Regions from separate parts of the Homo sapiens genome. Here region 2 is linked to region 1. The links are contacts of gene promoters, found by promoter capture Hi-C in blood cells and fetal thymus (Javierre and others, 2016). All regions are on one chromosome and are shown on one strand. The core of a region is centred on a gene start or on the middle of the fragment in contact, and the rest is flanking DNA. Distances in the headings are between cores, read along the strand shown.

Region 1 (3,146 bases), core at 481-2,980:
ATAACTTCAGTATTGTAAACTAGTTTTTGGTTTGCAGTTTTTGTTGTTGTTTATAGACACTCTTGGGTGTACCTGAGTCTCTGTTATTTATTTTTCAGGGCCCAGCAGTCAGGGGGAAACTTCTCAGAGTTGGTCCTTTCTTCCTCCCTCCCTTCCTTCCTCCCTCCCTTCCTTCCCCCCTTCCTTCCTCCCTTCCTTCCTTTCCCTTCCTTCCTTCCCTCCTTCCTTCCCTTGCTTCCTTCTGCTAGCTCTCAGTATCTAGGCCCTATGCAAACGACTCAGCTCAGTTCACCCTCAGAGAGCTGCATTCTAGTGGTGGAGACTTGAAAACTGATCCTTAGGGCACAGTGGCATGGGTTACACGGGGGGAGTGACAGTGCGGTGGGACACGGTGAAGAGACTTTGGAAAAACTAACCCCTGTTGGGGAAATAAAATTAAAGACAAAATCCCCTGCCAACGCAGAAAACCTCTTCACAAGGGTAGAAAAGAAAGAAAACAGTGTTATTATTGAATAAGCATTAAACCGGAATGTGATACACTGGTGATCCACTAAAGAGACTGCAAAGAGACAAAAATCTTACTCTTTTATGTAGCAAAGTGAATACAACTTACTGTATCCATTTTCTCAAGATAAACAATAACTGGTCCTCAAGCAAGAGGACTTGGCTGCACCTCACTCTAAATTTACCTGGTAAGTGGGAAGCCACCTGTGTCTGCTAATTGCCTTTATCCAAAGGAAAAATCGATTTCCCCTATCTTTATAACAAAGGGTAGGTTGCAACTAAGAGCTAGGCACCAACTGAAGTTAGGCTCCTACCCTCCCACAGGAACTGAGAGAGAGCACTATCTTCCTTAATTATTACATTTCAAAGGGTTGGCCCCCAGGTCCTTGAGAAAAACATTCCGGGGTTGTAAAACTGGCAAGAGGTTTATTTACCTTTTAAGAAGATTTACATTCATCGCAAAGCAGTAGAGAAAGTATTCACAATTACAAGTTTTCTAAAGTAAATGCTCTCAGAAAAGTGAGGGGAAGGAGTCTTTTCCCTTTTTGCGCCAGGGAAAATTAAATTTTCTTTTTCTTCTAATTTGTATCCACCCTTACACCACTCATTTCACAAATAACGTCACCGTAAAGATTTACTAAATGCTCACTATATACCAGGTGGTCTGCATACAACTCAGTTAATCCTCTCAACAACCTAAAAGAGAGATATTGTTATTACTATCCCTACAGGGCCCACATAGGTTAAGTGACTTGCCCACAAGATCACATGTTGAGTAAATGGCTGAGTTAGGATTCCAGACCAGGACTGTGCGATTCCAAACTCAGCGACTTTAGTCTCCAGGCTACGAGGCTGCCAGAGACATGGCTGAAACCCAGTAGTAGTTCTTACACGGTCCCATCCTTGTCTAAGGGAGGGGTGAGGTGGGGTGGAGAGGGGATTGGGTTGGGGGTAGAAGGCTACCGCAGGCGCCATGGACCTCCCAAAATAACCCTGGCCCGAGGGCCAGGAATGAGATTAAGGACGGAACGCATGCCCTCCAAAAAGTGGCATTTTAGAATTTATACAGCACCCCAGCACGCTGCTAAACGTGGGCACACAACCACCACGGCCCGATCACGCGCAGCGGGAACCCGGTCTCTGAGCTCCGCCCCGTGCGTTGCGTCATCAGAGTCACGCCACCTAATCCATTCTCTCGGTCTTCGTCTGCTCCGGTATTGCAACTGCCTCGATTGGTCGATCCTGGGCCAGCATGGCGGCGCCCATGTAACCCGGTCCGTGCCGCAAAGCGAACGGCGGCCGCGGCGCGGGCCCCGCGGGGGTTAGAGGTCACCATGCTGAGGGTCGCGTGGAGGACGCTGAGTTTGATTCGGACCCGGGCAGTTACCCAGGTCCTAGTACCCGGGCTGCCGGGCGGTGGGAGCGCCAAGTTTCCTTTCAACCAGTGGGGCCTGCAGCCTCGAAGTGAGGAGCTGAGAAATGGGACGGCGGGCGTAGGGAAACAGGGTTCGGCGAAGATAGGGAATAAGGAAGCACAGGAGTAGGGGAGATATACAGCGGTCAGGATAAGGGGGAAAGGGCGGTGGTTGCGCAAGAGGTGAAACAAGATGTGAGAGACAAGGGGTAGGGAAGAAATGGGGCAGCGGTTAGGTTCAGAAGCGCATAGACCGTGGCGGACGGGCAATGCGAGGGGCACAGAAAGGAACTGAGGGGTGGGCTATTTAAGGAGATGGTCCTCAGCCCTCTCTTTTCTGCGTAGGTCTCCTCCTCCAGGCCGCGCGCGGATATGTCGTCCGGAAACCAGGTAGGAGTTCCTAAGGTGGGACTTGGGGCGGAAGAGAGACCTCCTGGAAGGCTGGGGTGGGTAAGGGGACCGATGTGGCGAATTAGAGCCACTAGATGAGGTGAGCCAGAGGTCCTGAGCAAAAGACCCCACGTCCACCTTACACAAAGCCCTAGGCCTGCAGCCTGTATGGGGACAGAGGGGTGTGAAGGGCGGGAGCAGGAGCTTTCCAGGTGAATGAGTGAAAATGAGCTTCCCAGAGGGAGTGCATGGCTGGCACCACCCAGGCCTACCTAGAGTATGGCACTTTGTGTCTGCGCTTCTGAGATGCAGGATGTAATTTCCCATTGCAACTCAGTATGCATAGTAGTTAAGATCCTTCTTATTAGGTAAATGATATGGGGCAAGGTACTTCCTCTCTCTGATTCTTATTTCTAAAATGAGTGTGAAAGTATCCATTTGCAAGGATTGTTAGGATTCAGCGATAATACACGAAAAGCACCCTTAACGCTGTGCTCAATTAAATATATTGATAGTATATATTAGAATTTATTATCTGGGGCCGGACGCGGTGGCTTACGCCTGTAATCCCAACACTTTGGGAGGCCAAGGTGGGCAGATCACTTGAGTTCAGGAGTTCGAGACCAGCCTGGCCAACATGGTGAAACCTCGTCTCTACTAAAAATACAGAAAAAAATTAGCCAGGTGTGGTAGCGCGCGCCTGTAATCCCAGCTACTCAGGAGGCTGAGGCAGGAGAATCGCTTGAACCTGGGAGGTGGAGGTTGCAGTGAGCCGATCGTGCCACTGCACTCCAGCCTGGGTGACAGAGCGAGACTCCATCTCAAAAAAACAAAAAAG
Region 2 (3,146 bases), core at 285-2,784, 290 kb after region 1:
CAGCCAAACAAATGCAAGAGAAACTTATAAATAACTCCCACCATGGCTCCTTCACATATGAGCACCAGGGCATGGTGGGAATGCAGGGGCTATGCCACCTTGGTTGGCTCAACTCTGGGACCAGCCAAGGCCATGACTGGGGCTCTGAAGACAGAGAGGGCAGGATTGCATGGGCCCTCTAGGGTGGAGCCAGAATGAGGGACCCCTCCACCCCACAGCACCCAGGCCAGTCTGACACATGGGGACAATGCCACCTGGCTAAGGTTGGCCCAGACCAGCTGGCTGTGGTTGCAGAAAAGGCTGCCTGCCTGTCCCCACCCCCAGCCACCACCTCCAACTTGCTCTTGAGGCTCCTGCCAGGCTTCCTGCCCTCTGCGGCATTGTGCTTTGTCTCTGTTCTCCTCTCCTACAGGGCAACCTCTGTCCTCAGGGTCCAGACCCATATGCCGGCTCCCCCGAGGGGCACAGAGCCCTGGGTAAGGTAGAGTGGGGATGGGGACCTGGAGTATGTGAGGGCTCCAGGGACCTGGTGTTCTTGCTGAGCTCTGGAGGAGGCTTGGTGGGAGCTACAAGGGGCTCTGGAGGGGGAAGGGCTGGGCCTTCTCTTACTTCTACTGGGGGAGTTCCAGAGCGTGGCAGAGGACTTTGAGAGCCGCTTGTTGATTATAGAGTCCACGTGTTTGGGCAGGTTAACTGCCGACACGGAGCACCTGCTCCCACCTGGAGGGGGAAAAGACACGGCATTAGGGCCGGGCCCGGCAGGAGCCAGTGGGGGGCACCGAGGCCTTCCATGCAGGATGCTCCGAGGGCGGGGTGGGAGAGGGAGGAGTGGGCAGGCTAGGATGAGGAGCAGGAGGCAGCCTTGGCCCTGGGAGAGGGAGGGTGGGGGGGTAGGTGACCAGAGACAACCTGGGTTGGGGGAGCCGACGGAGAAGGAACAAAGGGAGGAGATGAGTAAAACTAGAGAAACTACAGCTTTCCTGGCCAGACCAAGGAAGCCATTCCTTACGGCTGAGTACTGCAACCCCTCCCCATAACCACCCAGCATTAGCACTTGCTGACACTGCCCAGCCAAGACGTTTGGATACAACACCCCCGTACTGGGATAAATGCAAAAACCCTCCTAAACAGGACCTACACAGTCACAGTCACTTGCACAAATCCACGTGTTCATCCAGAATCACAAAAAGACATGCAGACACAGGCATATAGAGTGGCAGATACTTCGGCATGCACACATGTGTGCAGACATGCACAGGGACAGAGACACAAACACTAACAGATAGTGTGTCAGACCCAGATGCACACAAGCCACAAACAGATCGAAGCAACCTCATCATGACATTTGTAGCAGCTCACATTTGTTGATGCTTACCATGTGCCAGGTACTGTGTGGGGCACCACACACATGTGACCTCATTTGATCCTTCAAACATCTATCTACCACCTCAGGGGCAAGTAGTATCACTATCCCCAGTTTATAGATGAAGAAAGTGAGACTTCGAGAAGTTAAAGGTTACGCTGCAAGTGCCAGAGCTGGAACCCAAGTCTGTCTGACTTAGGAGCCCTCACTGAGGTACACAAGGTCACAAACACGCCAAGGCAAACACATATTAAGACACACAATGCACGGGTCCAGGAGCACATAAACAGAAGATACACAGCTAGAAATACTGAAACTTGCCATTGCATAAAGACATCCAAGCACAGTGGTACATACATGCCAGCAAAGAATCAGACCAAAATCCATGGTGGCCCTACGCGGAGAAAACTCAGAGACAAAAATCTACCTTCCGAGACAAGGAGTGACAGTTTCTTTAAGATCCAGTGTCTGTAGGTCATTAAAGTCTTTTATGTATCAACAACTAATAATAATTGACAGGCGCAAAGAAGGCTAATCCTAAAATGACAGAGGTTTGAAGAGCAAACCAAATGGAGAGAATCCATCTCTGATTTGATAGTGGAAGTCCTTGGGAAGGGACAGTTTGGCTTACAGACCATTCTAGAAGACACAAGTCACATAAAGCAAGGCACACCTGCTGCAGGGAGCCACCAGCTTTTTGTAGGGAAGTTGTTCCCTTCCCTTACTTGCCATCCCAGCCTTGCCCACCCACTCCCCAGCCCCTCCAGCCTACTCACTGGTCTTATGTCCTGGAGAGCTGTGGTGCAGGGCCCCTGCCCAGGACCAGCGCTGCTGCCGGATTTCGGCCCACGTCTTCTTCACTGACCGTTGGATGGCTGCTTCATAGCGCTCCTGGGGGAAGGTGGGGAGAAGAGAGAGATGTGGACTCAGAACATTCATCGAATTTGGGATAGAGGCCCTTCTTCCTCCTGTGACAATGCCTCCCCCACTCCCTTCCCTTGGAGTCTTTTCCTGACTCATTGCAGGTAACCAAGGTTACCAAATCCTTGCTATGATTAAGGACCAAGATCCCTTTCAACTTGTTCTTGGGGAGCTTTTCACTGTTCCTGAGTCATTTCCTGAGTGCATGAGTTGATTCTCTGAGGATTGGGTGGACTCCCCCTACCTGGGGCTCCCAGGCAAGGCCACATCTCAGGCACTGAGGGTCCTGACCTTGGGGCTATGTGTTCCCTCTAGCCTGAGGCCCTCCCAGGTAGGGCCAGGTGGCCATTTCCTTCATTTCCTCACCAGCACTCAAGCTAGGGCTTTACCCATGTCACAGAGCTAGGCACGCTCACACAGATGCATACCTGCATACATACAGACACATGGGGTACATGTACGAACACAGGTACTGACAGTAAACAGTTACAGGGGCCTACAGTGGCACATTCAGAAGCAAATGTGCCTGCAGTTGTACAGGTGCCCAGATATTCTAACACAGGGACACAACTGTAGATGTGAACACAAATAGGACCACATAGACACAGATAAGGCAGAGCCGTGAACATGGATGTGTGTACACACTGCACCAGTATGCAGACGGTGAGCACACGTGTACATGGATTCACGGAGACCCATCCCGCACCTTGTTTTTCTCGAGCTTCTGCCGCTGCCGTTCCTCCAGGGCTGCACGGCGTTGCTCGGCTTTAAGACGTTGCTCCTCCAGCCGGCGCCGGCGCTCCTGGAGCTGCTTCTCCCGCAGCGCCTTGGCCTTCTCCTCCTTCTCCAGCCACACTGCCTT

Evidence for each region. Contacts are between HindIII fragments. The CHiCAGO score rates a contact against its expected background, and 5 or more counts as called.
Region 2: a contact is called between a fragment that was not itself captured here and the fragment with the promoter of MRPS15 in region 1, in 1 of 17 cell types (neutrophils). The highest score is 5.6, in neutrophils.

What each region holds. Positions count from the first base shown.
Region 1 is chr1:36,462,968-36,466,113 of GRCh38, reverse strand. MRPS15 (mitochondrial ribosomal protein S15) reads left to right here and starts at 1,730. Exons shown (of 8, transcript NM_031280.4): 1 at 1,730-1,968; 2 at 2,264-2,308. The coding sequence starts at 1,839. CSF3R (colony stimulating factor 3 receptor) reads left to right here. Exons shown (of 17, transcript NM_000760.4): 17 at 1-71. RefSeq lists enhancers at 917-1,818, 1,575-1,824, 1,224-2,423, 1,819-2,722. The HindIII fragment of the contact is 11,955 bases long and covers 1-3,146 here.
Region 2 is chr1:36,172,472-36,175,617 of GRCh38, reverse strand. It overlaps MAP7D1 (MAP7 domain containing 1), which reads right to left. Exons shown (of 17, transcript NM_001388490.1): 4 at 2,991-3,146; 5 at 2,140-2,254; 6 at 610-720. Among named protein-coding and RNA genes, the nearest start is that of MAP7D1, 18 kb to the right of the region's middle. RefSeq lists a silencer at 179-268 and an enhancer at 1,871-3,070. The HindIII fragment of the contact is 7,110 bases long and covers 1-3,146 here.